4 separate regions of the Homo sapiens genome follow, and all the other regions are linked to region 1. Evidence: promoter capture Hi-C in 16 types of primary human blood cells and fetal thymus (Javierre and others, 2016). All regions are on one chromosome and are shown on one strand. The core of a region is centred on a gene start or on the middle of the fragment in contact, and the rest is flanking DNA. Distances in the headings are between cores, read along the strand shown. Region 1 holds the start of EPC2 (enhancer of polycomb 2). Region 2 overlaps MBD5 (methyl-CpG binding domain protein 5). Region 3 overlaps MBD5 (methyl-CpG binding domain protein 5). Region 4 overlaps ACVR2A (activin A receptor type 2A).

What was found. The method cuts DNA at HindIII sites, captures the fragments that hold promoters and counts their contacts. A CHiCAGO score of 5 or more calls a contact.
Region 2: a contact is called between a fragment that was not itself captured here and the fragment with the promoter of EPC2 in region 1, in 1 of 17 cell types (naive CD8 T cells). The highest score is 5.4, in naive CD8 T cells.
Region 3: a contact is called between a fragment that was not itself captured here and the fragment with the promoter of EPC2 in region 1, in 3 of 17 cell types (naive CD8 T cells, naive B cells and total B cells). The highest score is 6.0, in naive CD8 T cells.
Region 4: a fragment that was not itself captured here is called in contact with the fragment with the promoter of EPC2 in region 1 in 1 of 17 cell types (total B cells); the score reaches 5.7 in total B cells.

Annotation. Positions count from the first base shown.
Region 1 is chr2:148,642,880-148,646,135 of GRCh38, reverse strand. It overlaps EPC2 (enhancer of polycomb 2), which reads right to left and starts at 1,385. Exons shown (of 14, transcript NM_015630.4): 1 at 966-1,385. The coding sequence starts at 1,118. RefSeq lists enhancers at 62-211, 808-1,312 and silencers at 302-391, 1,152-1,731. The HindIII fragment of the contact is 14,369 bases long and covers 1-3,081 here.
Region 2 is chr2:148,061,821-148,065,329 of GRCh38, reverse strand. The region is part of intron 1 of MBD5 (methyl-CpG binding domain protein 5); the gene reads right to left. The region is part of intron 1 of LOC105373673 (a long non-coding RNA gene); the gene reads left to right. Among named protein-coding and RNA genes, the nearest start is that of MBD5, 42 kb to the right of the region's middle. The HindIII fragment of the contact is 4,081 bases long and covers 1-3,484 here.
Region 3 is chr2:148,046,025-148,049,358 of GRCh38, reverse strand. The region is part of intron 1 of MBD5 (methyl-CpG binding domain protein 5); the gene reads right to left. All of the region lies in intron 1 of LOC105373673 (a long non-coding RNA gene), which reads left to right. Among named protein-coding and RNA genes, the nearest start is that of MBD5, 27 kb to the right of the region's middle. RefSeq lists an enhancer at 802-891. The HindIII fragment of the contact is 7,418 bases long and covers 1-3,334 here.
Region 4 is chr2:147,852,087-147,855,562 of GRCh38, reverse strand. The region is part of intron 1 of ACVR2A (activin A receptor type 2A); the gene reads right to left. Among named protein-coding and RNA genes, the nearest start is that of ACVR2A, 8.8 kb to the right of the region's middle. The HindIII fragment of the contact is 599 bases long and covers 1,117-1,715 here.

The DNA of each region.
Region 1 (3,256 bases), core at 136-2,635:
TCTTGAGGGTGCAGTTACTATGAACTTCGCACGCAAGTAACACCACTCGAGTCATAAACACTCTCTGTCAAGCCAGATGAAATCCAACCGTCTGCAAAATTTAACCCATCGGAGGAAAAGCAGCAATTTTCCCAAAAGGTGCTGTATTATCAAAATTACAACTGCCAATTTAGATGCACTAGGTCCTCAACTTCTAAGGACCACCTCGCAATGACAATTCTCGAGGACAACGCAACGCCGGCGGCTCGCTTCCGGGCATCCCCGGCTCCTCTCTAACGTTGCGCACGGAGCACGGCCGTCCAGGCGGAGCAGGCAGAGCCCGTCCGCCCCGCGCCCGGCTCGGGTCGGCAGAACTGGCCGGCGGGCGGCCCTCGGACGCTACGACCCGCTCGGTAGTCGTGGCCCCCGCCCTCCCCCGCCGCAGTGCTGCACCGCCTCATCCCGCTGCACCTTCGCGGGCGGGGGAGCCAGGATGATTACATTGCTGGGAGGAAGATGTTTGTTTTGAAAGCACCCTTCCACAGTCATTTCAAAGAGAACTCAATACAAAGCCAAAGTTAAAAGTGGAAAAAATAATAATCTTGCCTAGCCAAATAATACCACGCCATTAATTAGCCCCGCGCCTGAGAGAGGGAGGTGGAAAGGTAAACAGAGACCGTACGCCAAGAGCGGCCAGCGCATCCCCTGCGCCATTCCCGGCCGCCGCTTACGGCAAGGCCCCCTTACGGCAGCGTAAGCAGCGCTGCGAGCTAATCACAACACTGGGACGCAACAACATGGCGGCCGCGGGCGGGCGCTACGCCGGCCGAGAGGGTTTACGCTACTCCGCCGGCGTAGAGTCCCGTGCGTTAGAGCGGCAGCGGCGCCCTCCAGCGAGCGTAAAGCGCTCTGTGAATGGCGAGGCCCGACTGACAAAGGGGAGGGGGGAGGAGGGAAGGGGGGGTAATAAACACTCGAGTCCCTACCGATTCCTCCTCCTTCTCCATCCCGGTGGGCATCTGGGGCACGGCCCGGTTGATGGAGACGCAGTCGTTGAGATCAGGCATGTCCTTGCCGCGGTAGATAGGCAGCGGCTTGGCGGCGTCCAGCGCCCGCGCTCGGAAGGAGAGTTTACTCATTGTCTCCCCGCCTTACAGGAACAGCCCGGGCGGCGGCGGCGGGGCGGGCGGGGAGGGGGGGAGGACTCCCGCCGCCTCCTCCACCTCCTTCCTCAGTGCAGCGCGGCCGGCCCGCTCCTCCTCCTCCTCACTGCCCCCGGCCACAGCATGGGCGCCCACCCCGCCCGAAAACAGCCCCCCGCGCCCGCGGCCGCCTCCACACACTAGATCCGCCGCTCGCCCGCCCGATCCGCTCCCTGCGCCATGGCCAACATGGCGGACATTACCACAGCGGCGGCGAGCGATCCCGGCAGCCCGCGCGAGAGCGCGCCCCCGTCGCGGGAACGCGCCTCGCCCTCTCCCTCCCTCCCTCCTTCCTCTCCCTTCCCCTCCCTCGCCTGCCCACCCACTCTCTCCGCGGCGCTGCCGGCCCGCGGGAGCGTGCTCGGTCTCGGTCCGCTCCGGGGAGAGGGGGCGGGGGCGGCGCCCCTCCGCTCGCTGGCCGGTGCTTTCGCTGTGTGGCAGGTGCCAGGTGCGCAAGTTCGCCCGCGCCCGGGAGCGTGCGCCTCTCCCGCCGCCGCCCGGTCACCCCTCTCGCTGGGTGTCCCGGAGGAAGGCGCCGGGCAAAGACGGCTGCGCCGAGCAGCGCGTGTGTGCAGAAGTCCGGGAGCGGGAAGGGAAAATGTCGACCCGGACCCCACCAGCCATCACCCAAGCCTGTACTTGGACAGCGCTATCCCCAAGGCGCCCTGTGCGCAAGCTAATTCGCATCCTCCGAGGCGCACATCCCCGAGAGGTGCAAGAGGTCTCTCCCATCAGTCCCATCAGTCCGTTCGGAGGACTGGACCGCGCTGCTGGTGCCAGCCCTCTTCTACGCCCTCCCCTCCGTACCTGTCCGAAAGAGCTCTCCAAGGTGCAGCAGCGCGTTCATCCTCGCTTTGCAGTGAGGGTTCATGGTTTGAGGCTGCCAGATGCAACAAGTGAACTTAGGTTCCCTGTCACCCAAACTTCGGTACAGCTGTTTAGTGGATGGTAGGTATTTTTCTGAGTTCAAAAATAGTAGCTTTCCTAAAAGTTCAGCTTCTAAAAATTTAGCCAAGGCAGCACACATTTGCGAAGTAGCAGATGTGTGTCAAATGTGGGGTGCTGTGGAAGACTCGAAGAAATCTGAGAAAAGGTTCCTGCCTCAGAGAGCTTTCACCTTAATGGGATGCCAGGATGGCTGGAAAGATGAGTAACAGAGACGTAAATAGTTGAAGAAAATGACAGCTGGAAAGATAAGTGACAACCGAAAAAAAAGTGTAAATATTTTAAGAAAACAATACAAGAGATGACACAGGCAGTAAGTAGCACATGATTAATTACCAAACGAGATCTAGGCAATAATTGTGAGAGTTCAGAGAAAGGAAAGGAGGCATGACTGCAGCCTAAACTGGTTAGAGAAAGTTCTCAAGAGGAGGGAAAATCAAGGTGACTCAAATAAGTACTAGCTATTGTTGACATCAACCTGGTTTAGCCAAGAGGCTCTTGGTTAGTCTTTAAGCATTACACATTTCTCACAAAACCGTACAAAGAGAGTTTTTAACACATTTTACCATTTTCTAATAATCGATCATACTCTAACTCAGAGAAAGTCAGATGATTTCCTAAAGACCAACAGTGAAAAAATTGATTCCTACTGTCATTTCTATGTGACAATAAAACTATATCTCTTCCTCTATTACGTCCTTCTTCCCCTCCTCCACTTCCTCCCCTCCCCCTTTTTCCTCCTGTTCCTCTTCCCCTTTTCTCTCTGCAGTCTCCTCCTTTGAAGGCAGAATGGTGGATATAGTCTTCATGGTAGTGTCCAAATAGTCTAACCAGTCTGTCGCAGCAAAACTCCGAGTATTGTTTAGTGGGGCTTGAGTGTTTTTCATCCACTTTGTTGTTGGAAGCAATGGAGTTGCTGTGACTCATTTCTTGTAAGCAGTACCTTCCTCAAGCTTATGGGCATGTCCTGCTCTCTAAGTGCTACCCCTGGAACAGTTCCAATCCTCTGGAAGCAAGAACAAGAAGTTCTTGGGAGGGGGTCAGCACTGGGTTCAAGCCTGAAAGGGAAGAAAAAAGCAATAGTTGAAGAAATGAGTCATCCAGAGCTTTCATCTGGATGCCCAGCCCTC
Region 2 (3,509 bases), core at 195-2,694, 580 kb after region 1:
CCTCCCCCTCCTACCTTAACAACGCTGGAAAATACCAGGCTATTTGAAGACAGGAGAGGCTCATCACAAAGACTGAAAAAAGATCTGCTAGGTCCCTCTTGATACATGGTCCAGAGGAAAGCAGAAATGGTCTGCCTTTCCCTGAGTACTACCCAAGCAGGTTGGGCTTACATATTTAAGACTGTGGATAAAGTCGGCAGCTATCAAACCCCTAATCTTCCTTTTAGAAAGTGGTAATTCTAAATTTATTATCTCCGGATGCTGGCTGTGCAACTCCATCTCTATCAGACTCCAAAGCAGGGAAGAATCTCCCCTGACTACTGGTGTATGGGGCCTGAAAGAAGTAGGACACAAGCAGGAACCATAATTTTAGGAAGTGACTGTAATACATAATTTCAGCTCTCAGGTATGTTATCAGAAATACATTAATATAAAAGTAGTGGGCTATATATAAGAAAGAACGGTCAAGATTGTAATTATTCTGTTTTTCATACATCAATTACTAAAGAAATAAAAGAAGGAAAGAAGAAAGGTAAGGAAGAAAGTAAGAAACAATGAAGGGGAAGAAAATGAGCCAATATAAAGCCTCCAATTATTTTTCAGGAAGTTATCTTAAAGTTATTGCTCCTTTAATTTGTTTGTGTCTTGAGTAAGAGAAGATTGATTTCAGGTGTAAGGACTGATGGGCCCTAGGCAAAATAATTAATAGCTGGGAATAGGCAGGGTTGGGGCTGGGAGAATCGGTTTGCCTCAAAGAAAGGTATCTAGCAGCCAAATTAGAGTATTCAAGGGGTTATGAAGAAGAATATAGCTTTGATCCAGGCTACTACCAGTTTCTAGATAATCTCATCTGGTAGAAGGCACACTATGGAAAGAATCTTTGTGTAGTGGCGGTACTTAAAGACAGCTGGTGGGGGCCGGGCGCGGTGGCTCACGCCTGTGGTCCCAGCACTTTGGGAGGCCGAGGCGAGGGGATCACGAGGTCAGGAGATCGAGACCATCCTGGCTAACACGGAGAAACCCCGTCTCTACTAAAAATACAAAAAATTAGCCGGGCGTGGTGGCGGGCACCTGTGGTCCCAGCTACTAGGCGGGAGAATGGCGTGAACCCGGGAGGCGGAGCTTGCAGTGAGCTGAGATCGCGCCACTGCACTCCAGCCTGGGCGACAGAGCGAGGCTCTGTCTCAAAAAAAAAAAAAAAGAAAAAAGACAGCTGGTGGGAATAGTATGTTTCCTTTAGATTCACCCTATATATGAAAGAGCAAGAGCATAAAGACTCCCTGCTTGGGTGTAAGAAGCTATAGTCCCACCAGAACCCAGGAGAAACAAGTTTGCTAGTATTAGACATATTATCAATCTTCAATCTGAGCAAACAGGGTGGCAATGGTAGGAGAAAACTAGAGCTTGTTGGCACTTATGGACTCAATATAGGCACGTGATTACTGGACTAAAAAGACAGATTAATCCCCATCCAAGAATAGGATTATTAAATACCTTGGCTCAGGAACAGGTTGGGCAGAGTCCACAGGTCAAAGGGCTTAGATATTGGAAAATAAGAAAACAGCAATATTATAACTGGTATATTAACAGGCTTTTCAGGACGTGTAAATTGTACAGTGGTGGGAAAGGCCACCAATAGAGAGGCCATTAAGATCTCCACTTAAAAAAATAAATAAGTGAGCCCTTGTTCACATAGGCAGTGTCATCCAAAATATGTGTAGCACAGGAGTCAGCAAACTAAGACCTGCTGCCTGTTTTTGTATTAAAAAAAAAAAAGTTTTCTTGGAAAATAGCAATGCTCATTCATTTATGTATTGTCAATGGCTGCTTTTGCACTAAAAAAGCAGAGTTGAGCCAGGTTCCTAAGGCCTAAATATTTACTATCTGGCCTTTTACAGAAAAAGTGTGCTGACACTTGCATTAGAGTAACACAATCTGGAAAGAACCCTAACGATCCCCAACTTCTATCCCTGCCATTTATTTTATTTCAATTTCTTGCATCAATTAAAATTTGGATGTTTTTCAAAAGCAAATTATACTAAAATGAAGACAATAAATGAGTAAAGATCCTGAAATCACAGGAAAGACAAATTCAAAACTAATGACTTAAATTGTGATGAAGCTGCATTGGTACTCAACCCACCCACAACTCCTAAAGGAAATTATAAAAGTAACATGTACCTCAACTTTATTGAAAAACATTTGTAGTTTTTCTTTATTAATTAGTACGCAAGAGGAGATATCATTATTAGCAATGTTTTTATTTGAATACTAAAACATAAAGTGGTTAAGTGAACTGTTTAACAAACTGGGTCATAGATCTCAAGGAATCCGCAAATATGTGCTGAGAAATTTTGACATTCTCCAAGATAATTTGTAATTATTTTTCGTCTTGGTTGTACTTTATTGTGTTAATGAGGATGGTGGTTATAGCTATGTAAGAAATATAAGTGACTGCATTTATATTTGGTTAATACCACTATATGCATTTAAGAAACTTTCTAGAAAAAGAGTGTGATTTTTTTCTTACTTTTAGAGTTGTAAATACAACAGTAAAACCTGAGAAATCCATAAAACAGTATGTTGGCAAAGAAAAGAGAAATAACATCCAAAGAATCATACCACCATGGTTAATGAAACTCAGGAGTGATTTTATGATTCAAATACTATTAATTATTAAAACTTCCTAAACCAAAGTTCAAACAAGATATTTAATCACCTGTAACAGTAATCACACATATGCCAAAAAAAATTCAGAAAACATTGTTTACTTGAAGTTAAAACAAAATGACTTTAGCAAATTTTTTACATTACACTGAGCTTGTAGAATATAAACAGTTAAGTGTTTATCATGCTTAAGTTGTCAAATACATAAAATTACACACATTTTAAAAGCAGGTTATGCAACTTCATTTATACTATTATTATACATTATTATACTATTACAAACTTTATACATTTATTAATTTACATTTTGAGTAAAGACTATAACTGTTTTGAAAGTAGAAACCTTGTAGTTTTTTACTTTTTACAAATTAAGATTCTAGGGATTACTGTCAAACTTTAGTATGTTGCAGCTTTCCTCTGACAGAAAAAAAAAGCTAAAATGATACATGTATATACATACATGTATGTATATCCATATGGTTACATCTATTCATCTTAAGGTTAAGATGGCAACAAAAAGAGAATTAGTTGAGCAATTCTATAATAATTCTGCTTTCAATCTAATATGTAAACAAAATGGGAAAATATTTTCAGACATCATGACAATGCAATGTTACTATGCATACTATAAAATACATCCTTACATATTTATGAATAAAAAAGTAAGCCCTCTATAGATGTAAAGAAAAGGTACATGAATATATATTTTACTCAAACAAAAGGAAATAAAAACGGAAAAAAAAAACCCATGGGAAATATTTAAAATCCTGAGGACCTGAAAAAATTAAAGATTTTAAAGAGGAGAAAATCTAAAGCTTTCTAAAGATACAGTCTAGATATTG
Region 3 (3,334 bases), core at 304-2,803, 600 kb after region 1:
CTAGCTCCCACTGACAGATTTCCATAAATTTCTAGTGCTATCCAAATTCCTCCCTTGGTTCAAAGCAAAGTGAAGAATGGATGGTGCACGAAATCCACTTGCCACAAGATTTCTAGCTTCTAAAGAGCTAAGGTGATGTCCAGTTTCTGGGTACAATCACTGGGCAGCTGAGAACCAGTGAATACACAGGTTGATGCCACTGTCTAGTCAAGCTACAGTCCAGTCAATCCATCACATGTTACCAGAAACTCCCAGCAACCACAGGAAAATGCTTCTTTTTTACCATTTCCCACAATGTGGTCAATATGACTCTTGCTGGCACCACTTCTCAGACACTAACATCACTAATGAAATTCTATTTCTTTGCTCCTCCTGCCTCACCCTTTGAGCACTGCAGTACTTTCTGGGAGTACACAAGAATTCATGTAAGAAGAGTGGACTAGACTATTCCAACATCCCAGGATGAGACAGGGCAATTTTTCACAGAGAGGCTTATCTCATACCCACCCTAGGAAATTTATTCACTTCTTTTCTCAAGGGAGCAAAGTAGTAACTTTAGGCCTTCTGGGGGACTTTTCAACCACAGAGTTTCCCCTGAGTACATTCAGTCCTCTGTTTTCTACTCCATTCTTTTCTCTTTTAGTGGTTTTCTTATCATTTGTCTTTTACTGAACAAGTCATGTTACCTTGACCCTCCTTTTGAATATGTTCTTCCTCATTCCTGGAAAGCCTTACTCTTCTCTACTCTCCAACTCCAAAACAGCAAACTGCTCTTCATTCTTCAGGTCAGTGCTCCCTGAAGAAGACTTTGCTAATGTCCAAAAATAGATTTGGCGGCTTCTTTTCTCAGTTCTTATTTTCTCACAAAACTCTCCACTAAAGCATTTGCCAGGTTGTATTATTATTGTTGATTTTCAACATAGGTATGTGCATATCCTCACTAAACTATAAATTCTTCAAAGGCAGATGTTGTGTTTACTCATCTTCATAATTCCAGCACCTAATAAGTAGTAAGCATTTAAAAAACAATTTCTTAAATAAATGGGTGGGAAACCAAAAAAGGCCTATCAGGAGCCTTAATATATGTTAACATTTCTCGAGTCCTACTGAGACGGACCAGGCATTGTGTCAACAACTTTGTATGCATTATCCCTCTGAATCTTCCAAAAACCATGAGAAGGAGGTAGTTAGTAACCTTTTTTTGAACAGGTAAAATGATGCTTTACAGAGACAGAATGTTTCAGGATCTGAACTTAAATTAATCATCACCAAAGTTTATGCCCCTATCCACCTTAGACTTCAAAGGGAAAGAACAATGAATAAATTGATATAAGAGGATTGTTTCAAGACAGCATATTTAAGTTGGGAATTATCTACAGTATCTTACTAGAGGCTTCTTTGTGAGGCTTTCTAAAATAAACAACTCTATGTATGAGATCTCACAAACAATGGTTTCTCTAGTTTTGCTGCTTTTGTAACTCGTGTCTTTGCACATGCTGTTCTCTTAGTCTAGGAAGCCCTTACCATCTTATGCAATTGTAGAATTCCAACTCATAACTTAAAATTTAGCTAAGGTATCACTTTGGACTTAGGGCCATTCTGCCAAAGGAGGTATTCTCATCCTAAGTGGTTGCTTGCTGTTCTTTACAATTACTTCATTAAATGAATACTCTAGATGACCTTATACATTTATTTACATGTCTTTCTCCCCTAGTCACTCTAAATTTCTTCAAAGGCAGAGTTCCTTTCTTATTCATCTTTGTACCCCTAGTGCCTGTGTGGCACAAACACAAACATTTATCAAGGCACTTGGTAAAAATATTGGTTAACAATTTCTACATCTCCCAATTTGGCCTTCTCGTATATTCAGGTATTATCTGCTTAATTCTGGCCAAGCAGGATGTAAAAAACATCTAGAATTGCCATTGCCCATGATCCTTTTTAAAACTTCCTCTGTCTCCACGCAAAATGTACTCCATTTCTTTTGGTTGCAGAGCCCTTACTTCAATTCAGGTTTGTATGACCCTTAGTAAAGGTCATGGTCTTAGTTATGGCTTGAGCTAGATTTGAAGATGCAAAAGAAAACAAAGCAAGAACTTGATAATCTTGGTGACTGACACTAGAAGTAAAAAAACAACCATCTTATATGATCATAAAAGTTAAATGAGTGCATCATTAACTAAGAAGGGGAAAATTGAGGATGGCCAGGATGATTTGATAAGAAGTGACACCTGATTTGGGATTTGCAGTAAAACTATGTTGGGGGAGACAGTGGATAAGGCAAGAGGCACTGTACAAAAGACAGCATGTGAATAAAGCCAAGGAGACCTGAAGGAGCACAACATAATCTTGAAGAGGAAGTGGGTTGGTTAGCTGCGATGAAAGACATCATAAGGGGAAAAGTAATGGGAGATGAAGCTGGAGGTCTAAGTTGACATAAGATATAAAGATGAAGGGCTTATACTTCAGATTGAAAATAGGATTTTATATAAACCAATAAAAAGGAACAATCCACAAGGTTTTTAATTAGGGTAGTGACATAACCAGGTTTATGTTTGGTAACAACTCAGCAAAAGACAGAATATGGCCCAGAGTACAGAAAAGTCAGAGGCAGATTAATTAGCTAAGGAGATTACTTACTACCATTCTCTAGTCAAGGAATGAACTAAACTAGCAGCAATGTGCATAACACAAAGATAGAACTGAGCGGACTTAGGAATTAGGAAGGAAAACAATTCTATACGATTTGGTGATAGGCTGACTATGGAGGTAAAGAAGGGGTGGAAGAGGACTATGATATTTCTAACTTGGGGAATTGGGGTAGACAGGGACAGCACCATCCAAGAAAGTAAATACAAGCAAAAGAGGTTTGTGGGAGATGTTAATGAGTAATTACATAAATACTCAGTTTGAAAGACCTCAGGGACTTATACTGCTAACCACTCAGTCTACAACTTAATCATATGCTGAATTATTTTGATGTGTTTAAGTAGATTTCTCAACCAATCACAAAACTTCGAAAACCTTGTATTTTATTTCTTTCATAACATCACTAGTGTATAAAAAGCCTTCATTAAGGTTGGGTGCAGTGGCTCATGCCTGTAATCCCAGCACTTTGGGAGGCCAAGGTGGGCGGATCACAAGGTCAAGAGATCAAAACCGTCCTGGCCAACATGGTGAAACCCCGTCTCTACTAAAAATACAAAAATTAGCTGGGTGTGATGGCACACGCCTGTAGTCCCAGCTACTCGAGGGGCTGAGGCAGGAGGATCACTTGAACCTGGGAGGCGGAGGTTGTGGTGAGCCGAGATTGCACCACTGCACTCCAGCCTGG
Region 4 (3,476 bases), core at 167-2,666, 790 kb after region 1:
TCTAGCTTACACTGATGCAACAGGTTCCTAATGGTCTCACCTCTTCCCTCCTACACTCTTCCAGTATGTTTTTCAGATAGCTGCCAAAGTGATCTCAACACATAACCCAGATCTGCTCTTCCTTAAAACTCTTTGCTTCACACTGCCATTTGCATTTTATTCTAACTCCTTCCCCTGTTACATCAAAGACCTGCATGATCCTGTCCCTATCTCTCCAGTCCCATCACTGCATTCATTGCTTCAGGCAGCTAGTTAAATATTCACTGAGCTTCGCCTCTGTGCCAGAAACTGTGCCATGCATTGGAAGTATTAAGAAAAAGTCACACCCTTCCCCACCCCAGTAGAGCTTACATTCTAATATTAGAAAGGACAAATAAGAAATAGGCCAGGCGCGGTGGCTCACACCTGTAATCCCAGCACTTTGGGAGGCCAAGGAGGGCAGATCACTTGAGACAGGAGTTCGAGACCAGCCTGCCCAACATGGTTAAACCCCCTCTCTACCAAAAATACAAAAATTAGCCAGGCATGGTGGCGCATGCCTGTAGTCCCAGTTACTCAGGAGGCTGAGGCAGGAGAATCACTTGAACTGGAAGGCTGGGGTTGTGGTAAGCCAAGATTGCACCACTGCACTCCAGCCTGGCCAACAGAGCGAGACTCAGTCTCAAAAAAAAAAGAAATAGGCAGATAAAGTAAACAGATGTGATATGTGATAAGGCAAATAAAGAGTAATCCTCTCGGCACCCTGTTAGTTTCTGTCCGAGCACGTATGACAATCTGTAATTATGTTGTTCATTTGACTACTTACTTTATGACTATAAGCTTCAGAAAGGCATAATCATATCTGTCTTCATGTTTAATAATGTATCCCAAGCACTTACCATAGTGTCTAGCATGTAGTTCAATATTGATTTGTTAAGTGAATGAATACCTATTTCACCCTCTTTAATTTAGGGTGAGTAAAGTGAAATCTTAATGGCTGTCAAAGGTCAAAGAAGAGTCAGTAGGAAAGTAGGAATTTGAATGACAGACTCTTAAGTTTTAGTCCAAAATATTATACCACATTCAAAATATTGATCTCAAAGTACAGTCATTGAATAGCTTTGTGTTTTCAAAGCTTAAAGTAGCTGGTACCTAAAAAACAGACTTGAGAATCTTTCAAAACTTTACTTCTACTAAAAAGTTTTAAAACACTTAAAAAGTTTAAGAGAAGTTGTCCAAGAAAAAAAGATATTTTAAATTCCCACTAATAAATAGAGACGATTTAGTCCATTGTTTCTTTTTAATGCATGCTAAAACAGTGAGACCTTAAAGAACTCTTTGTAAGGAACCACGATATCTGAATATTCTAGATATTTATTGGCAGCTATCTGGCTCTCTATAATGATATGTTCTTTGGCTGTATCATTTAGTCAGAGTATTATTTCACATTAACTGACTGATAAGTAACCTGCAAATGTAAATATCCCCCAAGAACCAAATCTATATTTTTTAATGTTTTACATACCATATCCTTTTAAATGGGACTTAAAGATAGATTAAAAACTAATATGTAAGATCTACTCTGGACCAGCTACCATGTTATGTGGAGTTATCAATTCATTTAATACATCTTGGTTTACAAATTTTAAAAGTTAATCTCAGAGTTTTAGAAATGTGCCAAGATCTCATAACTTGTCCATGCCCCTTCCTCTTGAAATAATGCCTTGGAGCAAGCTTGATATATCACATATAGTTATGAAGATGGGAAGAACAATAAACTTTTCCTTTAAAATAAAAATTTTAAAGTTAATAATCATAACTACGAAAACTCCTCCCTCTAAGCTTTATAAATAGGCTTACTTTTATTACAATATGTAAAGACTTGATTCATTTTTAAAATCTTTTGAAAGGCAACCCCTCCCCACATGTGTAGCCAGTCCTTCTAATGTAGTAACTCTCTTCTTGCTTTACATTTATTTTCTTTAGCAATATTAGAGAATAAAGTAATTCCCAGTGTGACTACAGCCAACCAAAGAAAAAACTAGTCCAAAAGAATGGTCACTGAAAAGTTTAGGTTTCAAGCGTGAATACCATATACCAAATTCAGAAAAGCATCTAAATCTACTTCCTTAGAACAGTGTATTTTACTGTAGGGTCTCATACAGATTTCAAAGAATATAATCTGGATGACCAGTATGAGTAATTACTGAAATTTGACCATCATTTAAACATAAACAACATATTGAGCCACTAATGTTTAGAATTCTTTAACTAGACTTCACAATGAAGACATATCCATCATACAGTGTCTGCCTCTTTAAGAGAATATTACGTTATCATGTTTTATTATGTACTCTTATTTTTCCAAATACATGTCTTTATTTCTATTCATGCTTATCATCTAAAACTATATCTATCTGTAAACTTTTTTAGTTATGAAGGCACTTTCAATTTTCCTCTGGCTCATTACTTCCTTACCAATTTTATTTAGTAGTGCTACCATTCTACCTTAGTCTTCGAGTTGCTTTTCAGTCCTATATCCACATATGGGGTATTTGGGACATACATCAGGATATGTATCATCCACTCTTACCTCCTCAGTTTTAATTACTTTTCATTTGAATTTAAGGGTTAACCCCCTGAGATTGTCCTACTTCTTCAAGCAATTGTGAACTCTCTTCATCACACAAATCTCTTCCTCAGATTTAGTCAAAATTTCTCCATCCCACCTTGCCTTCATCCATGGTCAAGTTTACTCTCAAATGGCTATTGTGTTCCTGATGCTATTTTGTGTCTTTTCCTTCATATTAACATCCTTCCTAATCTCCGTCTAAGACTTTTTTTCCAGTACTAAGTCCAGCAAGTCTTTCCTAAATTAAAAAATCCCAACTCCCCAAAATTACAATCTAATGTTGTTTCAGCGCCTTCGTGTGTGCTTAATTTATTCGACTAGTCCAAAAGAGAGAAGACCTTAATCAGGGAAGAGCCATGTTCTCCCTTGAGACCAGTTTTCCCTATATTCTATACCTAGGCACACAGTCTCTATTGTAGATTAATTAATGACCATATTTTTCAGTGCATATATTTTTCATTGCACACATTTACATATGAAGCTTCCTTTTCCACTAAGAGAGTACTGAATACAGGAAATAAGGATTGTTGAACTAGGTCACTGGTTTTAGGGATTTACAATCCATTAGTTGGTCAATGAATCAATTAATGGGTCACGATCAATGTTTTTTAAATGAAATGTAATATAAAAATACATAAGTGTCCTGCACATAGTTAAGAGTACACAGTTCATGAAACTTTCATTTCTGATGCACACAGACATATATACATACACCCCTACTACTACATGGGAACTAAGTCATAATGCAATGTGTAATTCCTATTGTGTATTACAGTCAAAAAAGTATGAAAGCCATGGAACATGAGGATACCTAAGATCCCCTCTAAATCTATATAATTCAAATTCTAATTTTAATTATTTAAAA